Regions from separate parts of the Homo sapiens genome. Here all the other regions are linked to region 1. The links are contacts of gene promoters, found by promoter capture Hi-C in blood cells and fetal thymus (Javierre and others, 2016). All regions are on one chromosome and are shown on one strand. The core of a region is centred on a gene start or on the middle of the fragment in contact, and the rest is flanking DNA. Distances in the headings are between cores, read along the strand shown. Region 1 holds the start of IL20 (interleukin 20). Region 2 overlaps CR1 (complement C3b/C4b receptor 1 (Knops blood group)). Region 3 overlaps CR1 (complement C3b/C4b receptor 1 (Knops blood group)).

Region 1 (2,876 bases), core at 237-2,736:
CTCCCCACAACCCCCAGCTGTAGTCTAGGAGCTCTATCCCAGAGCTCTTTGAGCCCCCATGAGAAAAAAAAAAAAAAGAATTGAATTCCTAGGTCCTATTCAGACTATATTCTGAGGTCAAGCTCAATGGTCTACTAATTGACTGCCTAGACAGAGGACGCACTAATATACTGTAGGATACCTCACCTACAGAAAAAGTATAATTTCAAAGACAACAGAGTTATCATTAATATCAAATAGTTAGCATCTTATAGTTCTTTAGACTTTGCAAAGTACTTTTTGCCTAGAGCATATACCGAAAAGTCAATAAAACTGAGTTCTTATTACCTAGTCACATGTCTCAACACAGATTATTAGAACTTTTGGACTCAGTTTCTCCATCCATTAAATGGAGGTAGGAAAGAGAGTTTAGTTGCTAAGCCATTGAAGCTGTGTGCTGAGATGCATCCTGTCACCCAAGACCCACACTCACACAGAGCCGGAGGTCCTTCTTGATGGTAAGAAAGGAATTGGCGAGGCTGCTGATCTTCCGGAGAGTATAATGGTCAGGGGTCTGGTAGTTTTTAAATACCCTGTCCAGATAGAGTCTTAGCAAATGGCGCAGGAGGCAGCATCGATTCGCAGGCTGCAAAAAACCACAGGTATATTGGTGAGGGGAAAGGGGAGAGCAGAGACAAGACCAGGGTGATGGAGATGCTCCCACTCCACTCCTCCTCCCAGAGTTTGTCTGGGCCAAGCACATACCTTTGTGTCTTGCAAAGACTCAGTCCTCCTTAAGATTCTGATGTCAATGTTTCCATCTTTGGCTTGCTAAACAGAAGAAGACAAAACAAGCAAGGATGAGTCAGTGCCTGCTGCCAGGGTCTTCAATATCAAGACTTCTCATCCACTCCCTGCCAAGAACTAGTGGGAGGTGTCCTTTCCCAAAACATTTTAAATATTTGAACTACAGTTATTTCTTTGGAATACATCCCCCGGGTAAGGAATCCCCAGCCTGCCTCTTTTTATGATTACACTGCCAGTACTGCCAGGAAAGAGAAACGGACAAGGAAGGAAGAGAAAAGGCTTTCAGGAGAGGTAGATACCCGCTTACGTACCACACTGCCCCGTATCTCAGAAAATCCATTTCGTATTTCCTGAAGGTTTGTGGCGATCACACAGCTTCCCAAATTGAGTGTCTTCAGTCCAGTGGAAGGAGTCCATAGGAGATAAAACGCAGCAGAGAGAAGGCTGAAGGCAAGACTAGAGGCTTTCATCTTAGGCCTGAAATCTGGAGACCACAGGAGCTAGGAATTCAAAGAAGAGAGCATGACTTACTGAGTTTCCCCTCCTCCAAGTGTCCACGGGGTGAGGGGTGGGGGGTCAGGGGAAGAGAACAGCCTTATCTGGCCTCAGACAGTGTGGCCCATCCACGCAACTTACTAAGAAAAACTGCCAAGCCTCCCGTGAAGAGAAGATTTCAGGTCTGAGTTCAGAGTCTGAGTGCGAGTTGGTGGCACAGGTCGTGGCTCCTTTATTCTGTCCCCATCCTGGCTCCGCCGTTAGTGCCCAGCAGGTAAGGCCTGGAACAGCAGGCACTTGCAGTGAATAGATAGAGAATGACATTTCAGGGGAAATGTCAAAACTTGTTTTGGGGAATTGACGCATATAGCCTCCCCTTCCAGAAAGCCAACGTAGCTCACCCTTCTGGTCCCCTCAGACCCACAGGGGAACTGGGGAGAAATCGAATCTCACAGAAGCTGTGGCTGCGCCATCGAAAACACCTAGGGGGAAATTGTCTGGATTTTATGGCCACCCACAGGGCAGAGAAACTGAGCTCTGTTTGGCATTTGTCTGAGATCAGATAGGTTATTTGAGGGTAACAGATTCGCTTAAGCCCCAGAGGCAAATAGAAAGTCAATGATTTCATAACAAGCCTACTGCCAGGGAAAGGCAAGACGTGATGGGCAATCAGCCCGATTCCACCTAACACTCGTGTCTGGGACTCCACAGCGCCCTCTGCAGGAGGACTGTAGTCAGGCACTCCTGGGTGGATTCGAGAGTACACGCTTTCCTGGACCTGCAACTCAGGTCCTAGACCAAGCAAATGGTCCCAAAAGTCAGAGAAGAAAGGCAATGACGGAACTCATTTATTCTTGGGCGAGCCTCCTCAGTAAGAGAGCAGGTTAGGGTGTTTGCTGAGTTTTAAGATAAAATAATAATGGGCTGAGGTTAGGGTAAAACAATTGAGGCACTCATTTTAGGTGCAAAATTTAAGGGAGCACTAAAAAACCTCAGTCATCAAGATAAAAATATTTTAGTGCAATATCAAAATGAATTAAAAAGCTTATGACAAACAAAATATCAAAATTTTATATAAAGACAAAATTCGACAGTGCCATGCTGAGCCATATTGAAGCAAAAGGAAAAATTTGTACCACTATTCACATGTTTTCATGTTTCATTCTTAATGGTTAACTTTGTTTCTCAAAAGCATATGATGAAAATATTATTGATGAGTTTCCTTCCCTTAAAACCAGGACAGTAAAATTATAATAAATTTTGTTTGGGGCAGAAATAAAATATTTAAACTTAAAGTCATGAGTCGTAATAAACCTACTTTTTAATTTTTCAATTTTCTCAAATACTTTAATATTTTTGAAAGAAATAAATACATAAAATTTATAAAGACATATATATATACACACACATCATATATATATATGCACACATCCATATATATATGGCTGGCTCCATAGCTTGGCACAGCACTGATAATCATTATCACTTACTGAATTTTTCCTATATGCCAGGCAATATGCTAGACATTTTTTACATTTGTGACCACTCGAGATACTGTCAAATGTAGGAAAAGGAAAAAAGCAAACCAAACCCAA
Region 2 (2,876 bases), core at 101-2,600, 650 kb before region 1:
TACAAAAATGCCAAAGAGACTTTTTCAGGCTGAAGGAAAATAGTTTCATATAGAATTGACAGAATTGCAATAAGAAGGAAACACACCAGAAAGAGCTCATATGCGGGTATGTTTTCATTTAGGATCTTTATGATAGAGAAAACCTCTTCAGTCATTACAAGAAACACAAGATGGCAGTAAAGATTTTATTACGGGCTGGGGGTATGGCACGCCTGAAGATCACACAGAGGTTGGTCAGCGCGAGGAGACAGACAGAGAGAAGGGGACCCATCAGCCAATGCCTTTATTGGGGACCAGAGTATGACCCAGCATCTTGCATCTACAAGCCAAGGTATCTCCCATGGGGAGTTCTAATTGGTGAGTTTAAAGAAAGCAGGCACATGTTCCAGGCAGTCGTGCTGCGACTGAGAGGTGGTCACGGCAGCATATCTGCGAAGTCCATGCAGGGCACAGAGGTCAGGGACGCTAGTCAAGTAGGTTTTATCTAGCTGTCCCATAGAGAGGTGGTCACCAGGAGGCAGTTGTATAAGGCAGATATCTGGCTCGACCACGTTGCAAAATTGGGAGGAGGTACAGAACTAGAAAGGGCATTAAGGGTGACTAAGCCCTGCTTCTGGCATGAGAAAGCTAAACATATTCTAAATGGATGCTGAGGCAACATAAAAATTCTAAGAATTCACTAAGGTGTAAATATAAATAAATACTGTTTTTATAAAGACAACAGTGTCTTTGAAATATAGAATATATGTAAATCGTTAAATCAAGTTTAGCCTAAAGCCTTACGTAGTTTAAGCTCAGCCTAAAGGTTTCTCTGTAAACTGCAAACTATAACAAGTGAAGATGTAAACAGACCGCAGACTACTCTTACGCCAATCACCGAGTTTTGGCCAATCAAATGTGGCCAACTGTTTGAACTGTTTTCAAATAAGGCAAACGCTGAGCTATAACCAATCGGCTGTTTCTGTACCTCACTTCTGTTTTCTGTACGTCAGTTTCCTTTTTCTGTCGGTAAATCCTCTTCCCCCATTGCAGCTGGGCTGGAGTCTCTGCGCTTACTTTGGCTCGGGAGGCTGCCTGATTTGCGAATCGTTCATTGCTCAATTAAACTCTTTTAAATTTAATTCAGCTGAAGCTTTTCTTTTTGCAAAACGTATGGCAACAATACAAAAAGAGGGGGAGGACATAAATGGAATTAACTATTAATAGTTTCGGTACTTGCGTTGTTTGGAGAGTGGTAAAAGTACAATTTTAGCAGACTATAGTAAATCAAGGATGTCTATCTCTAGAGTAGTCATTTAAGAATAAAAAATGGAATATAACTTAAAAGCTACTGGGGAAATAGAATAATAAAAATACTTGATGAATTAAAAAATGTGAGAAATGAGGAATAAAGGAACAAACACATGAAACAAATACCAAGACTTAGACTTTATATCAGTAACTATATTAAATTTATTTATTTTTAATTTTTATTATTAAATTTTAATGTTCCAAACACACCAATGAACAACTAAGACTGAATAAAACAACAAAACCTTACTATATGATGTTTATAAGAGACAAGCTTTAAATATAAGACAAAGAAGGGCTGAAAGTAAAAGATTTAAAACACATATAATATAAAAACAATAAAGAAAGCTTATATAGCTGTATTAATATGCAAAGTAGATTTTAAGGTAAGAAGTATTATGAGAGGTAAAGAGAGACATTTCATTATGATAAAATAGTCAATTCAGCAGAAAGAATAAACCAAAAATTTCATGCATTTAATAACATGTTTAAAATACATAAAGTAAAAATTGCTAGAACAAAGAGGAAAGACAGACAAATTCATAGTTGTAGTTGGGGATTGTAATGGGTTGAATAACCACTGTCCTCCTTAAAAAATATCTGTGTCCTGATCTCTGAAACCTGTGAATATGACCCAGTTTGGAGAGTCTTTGTAGATACAATCACGTTAATGATCTCGAGCTGTGACCATTCTGGATTGCCAGGGTGGCCTCTAAATCCATGTCCAGTGTCTTTATAGGAGACAGAAGAGCAAAGGACACACACAGAGGAGAAGGCGATGAGAAGATGGAGACAGAGAAGGAAATGATGCATCTACAAGCCAAGGAACATCAACGATTGCCAGCAGCCACTGGAAGGAAGCCTGGAGAGAGGCACAGAACAGCTTGCAGATGGAACCAATCCTATTGACATCTTAACTGGATTTCTGGCCTCCAAACTGTTAAGAGAGTAAATTTCTCTTCTTTGAAGCCACTAAGTTTGTGGTAATTTGTTACAGCAGCCCTGGGAAACTAATACAGATATTTTACACATGCTTCTCCATAACTGAGAGAACAAGTGGAGGGGGAAAAAAAGACTGTTCTAAACCACATTTTCCTAAATGACATTTCTAGAAAATGAAGCAAAATAACTGTACATTCAAGTGCATATGTAACATTTTACCAAAATCGTCCATATTCTGGGCAATAAACCATGTCTCAAATGATTAAATTAATGAAAGAATGATAACTAGAAGATCTCTAAATATTTAGAAATTAAGCAATGCCCTTCTAAACAGCCTATGGGTCAGAGGAGATATTAAAAGTGAAATTAGAAAGCTTTTATGTACAATGATAATAAAAATATAAAGATTGTTGGAAATAAATAAAACAGTTTTAGAGAAAAATTGATAGGTTAAATGTACATATTAGAAAAATAAAGGTTGGAAACAAATTAATTAGTATCAAGAATTTAGGACTGGAGGAATACACAAAGCTTAAAGCAGAAATCAATAAAAGAGAAAATAGTCATAAACTAAAGAAAAAACAAGAAAGTTAAAAGTTGTTTTTCTGAAAAGCTTAGTAAAATTGATAAAGCCCCGGTAAAAC
Region 3 (2,876 bases), core at 167-2,666, 630 kb before region 1:
CATATAACCCGAATCACTTCGTTTATATCCTATCATATAAAGGAAATAACTCAGGTGGTTTTCTCTTACTACAGATTGATTTGACTTTCTAAAATTTCATATAACCTAAATCACTTCATTTATATCCTATTGTATAAAGGAAATCACTCAGGTTTTTTTTTATGGTTTAGCCTTCACACAGCATAATTAGAGATCCATCTAGGTTGCTGCATGTATACAAATTGTTTCCTTTAGTTGCTGGGTAATATTCAATTGCATAAATATATCTTAATTTAGTTTATCCATTTACTTGTTGAGGGACATTTGGATTGTTTCCACGTGTTGGCTATTACAAACAAAACTGCTATGAAAATTCATGTACAAGTCTTTGTGTGGACATATGATTTCATTTCTCTTGGGTAAAAACCTAAGAGTAAAATGTTGAGTGTGTGTCTAAGGTTTTAAGAATCTGTTGAACTATTTTCTAAAGTTAATGTTATAATTTTACCTGCCAAATAGCAGTATATTATAATTCCAGTTACTCCACCTTATCGCCAACACTTGGCTCGGTCAATCTTTTTCATTTTAGTCATTCTAGTGGGTATGTATTGTTATCTCATTTCGGGTTTTGTCTTGTATGACTCAGCCCACTTTCACATTCTCCTGGTTCAGATATTCCATTCAAAGCAAGTTGATGTATTCTGTGCTATATGCACAATTAACACATCATCACTTTCATGTCTGTTGCAATATGAGCTGTCAACCCAAAGAACACTCTGCTTTCCATTCTGCATACTTACCCTTTAAGGAATAGATTTGCACTTGCTTTGCTTAGGCACCTCTATCAGTTTAAAAAAAGAGCATGCCCTTTCAAATATATAAATTTATAAATTATATATGTACACGAACATAAATTATATGCCTCAATATAAATTTTTGAAATGTAACACAGATAAAATAAATATTTTAAATGCTTTGTTAATCATCATGACTTAGCACAATCATTAGCTAACATCTAACGGGACAAAAAACAGTCACATTGAGTCTCTCTGTTCACAATAGTGAATGTAAAGCTTATTTCGACAGTCTTCATGATACTTTCTAGGTTTTTTGGTTTCATCGAGTTGTGATCAGTTGTGATTAGACTGACAGCATTTCTTCTACTTAATGCCTCTGACAAAAAATGTGTATACATGTGTCTTTGCGGAGAGGGTGAGAGGGATTGTCAACTCTACCATTTTCTTGTTTTCTGGAGTTGGTTTTATTACTGGGATCTTCACCCAGCATTTCTGTGTAGGACACTTTTGATGTTACCTGTCCAAATGTGAAGCTTATTTTAGATTAAAATAGATAATATAAATCACACATCCACTCATCTGAGCATATGTAAACCAAAATACACCACAAAGCACAGAAAGCAAATTGGAACTTCCCTTCTATCTTGCACCTTTACCTAGCAGGGATAACCAAACCAGATCCTATATGAGGACCACGTGAGGGCGCCAGAGTCCACCCTATATTAAACACTGCCTGGTAAAGCTTAATTCGTGTACTATTTTATGGCTCAGAATGTGGTCTATCCCCATGAATGTAAGCGGGAGAATATGTGCTCTGCTGTTGTGGATGAAGTCATCTATATATGTCAATTATACCCAAGTGGATTGATGGTGCTGTTGAATTCAAGTATGTCCTTACGGATTTTCTGCCTGCTGAATCTGCCCATTTCTGATAAGGAGACTTCAGCACCTTTTCTGATATCAGAAAGATATCATAGAAGTCTCCAACTATGATAGTAAATCCATCTATTTCTCCTTGCAGTTCTATGGGTTTTGCCTCACGTATTTTGTCTCTCCATCAGGTGCATACATATGGGATATTGTTACGTCTTCTTGGATAATTGGCCCCTTTATCATTATATGATGCCCCTCTTTATCCCTAATAATTTTTCTTGGTCTGAAGTCTGCTGTGTTTGAAATTAACACAGCTATTCCTGCTTTCTGTGACTAGCATTAGCATGGTATATCTTTATCCATTTACTTTTCATATATATTGTCTATATTTAAAACGGTCTTGTTGTACACAGTATATAGTTGGGTCTTGTTTCTTGATCCACTCTGATGATCTGTTTCAAATGGTGCATTTCGATCATTGACACTCAAAATGATTGTTGATATAGTTGCTTTAGTTTTGTTACTGGTTTTTATTTGTTGCTTTTTTTCTCTTGTTCTCTGTTTCTATTTTTTGTCTTCCATTCTTTTCCTGCCCTTTATTGTTTTTTGTTTTGTTTGTTTGTTTCTTTTTTTTTTTTTTTTGATTTGGAGTTGCGCTCTGTCACCCAGGCTGGAGTGCAATGGCACGATCTCGACTCACTGCAACCTCCGCCTCCCAGGTTCAAGCGATTCTCATGCCTCAGCCTCCCGAGTAGCTGGGACTACAGGCACCCACCATCATGCCCTGGTAATTTTTGTGTTTTTGTAGAGACAGGGTTTCACTATGTTGGCCAGGCTGGTCTTGAACTCCTGACTTGAGGTGATCCACCCACCTCAGCCTCCCAAAGTGCTGGGATTATGGGCATGAGCCACTGTCCCCAGCCATCTTTATTGTTTTAACTGAGCATTTTATATGATGCAATTCTCTCTTACTTATTAACATATAAATTATAGTTCTTTTTTTCACATTTTTCAGGGGTTGTCCTACATTTGCAATATCTATTTGCAGCTAATCTAAGTCCTCTTTCAAATAGCACTATACCACTTTACGGGTACTGTGAGTAACTCATAATAACAAAACAATCCTAGCTCCTCTGCTATTTTTTGTCGTATGCAATCTGTTTCTAGATTCACTCTTTAAGTGCTAGTAAAGCCATATACCTTTCACTCATCCTTTCCTGATCATAG

The links. Contacts are between HindIII fragments. The CHiCAGO score rates a contact against its expected background, and 5 or more counts as called.
Region 2: a fragment that was not itself captured here is called in contact with the fragment with the promoter of IL20 in region 1 in 1 of 17 cell types (endothelial precursors); the score reaches 5.6 in endothelial precursors.
Region 3: a contact is called between a fragment that was not itself captured here and the fragment with the promoter of IL20 in region 1, in 7 of 17 cell types (endothelial precursors, fetal thymus, naive CD8 T cells and 4 more). The highest score is 10.0, in endothelial precursors.

What each region holds. Positions count from the first base shown.
Region 1 is chr1:206,864,233-206,867,108 of GRCh38, reverse strand. It overlaps IL20 (interleukin 20), which reads right to left and starts at 1,486. Exons shown (of 6, transcript NM_018724.4): 1 at 1,423-1,486; 2 at 1,098-1,286; 3 at 745-810; 4 at 473-625. The coding sequence starts at 1,256. The HindIII fragment of the contact is 6,531 bases long and covers 1-2,327 here.
Region 2 is chr1:207,517,898-207,520,773 of GRCh38, reverse strand. The region is part of intron 4 of CR1 (complement C3b/C4b receptor 1 (Knops blood group)); the gene reads right to left. Among named protein-coding and RNA genes, the nearest start is that of CR1, 23 kb to the right of the region's middle. The HindIII fragment of the contact is 432 bases long and covers 1,135-1,566 here.
Region 3 is chr1:207,498,293-207,501,168 of GRCh38, reverse strand. All of the region lies in intron 1 of CR1 (complement C3b/C4b receptor 1 (Knops blood group)), which reads right to left. Among named protein-coding and RNA genes, the nearest start is that of CR1, 3.6 kb to the right of the region's middle. RefSeq lists an enhancer at 1,550-1,609. The HindIII fragment of the contact is 209 bases long and covers 1,312-1,520 here.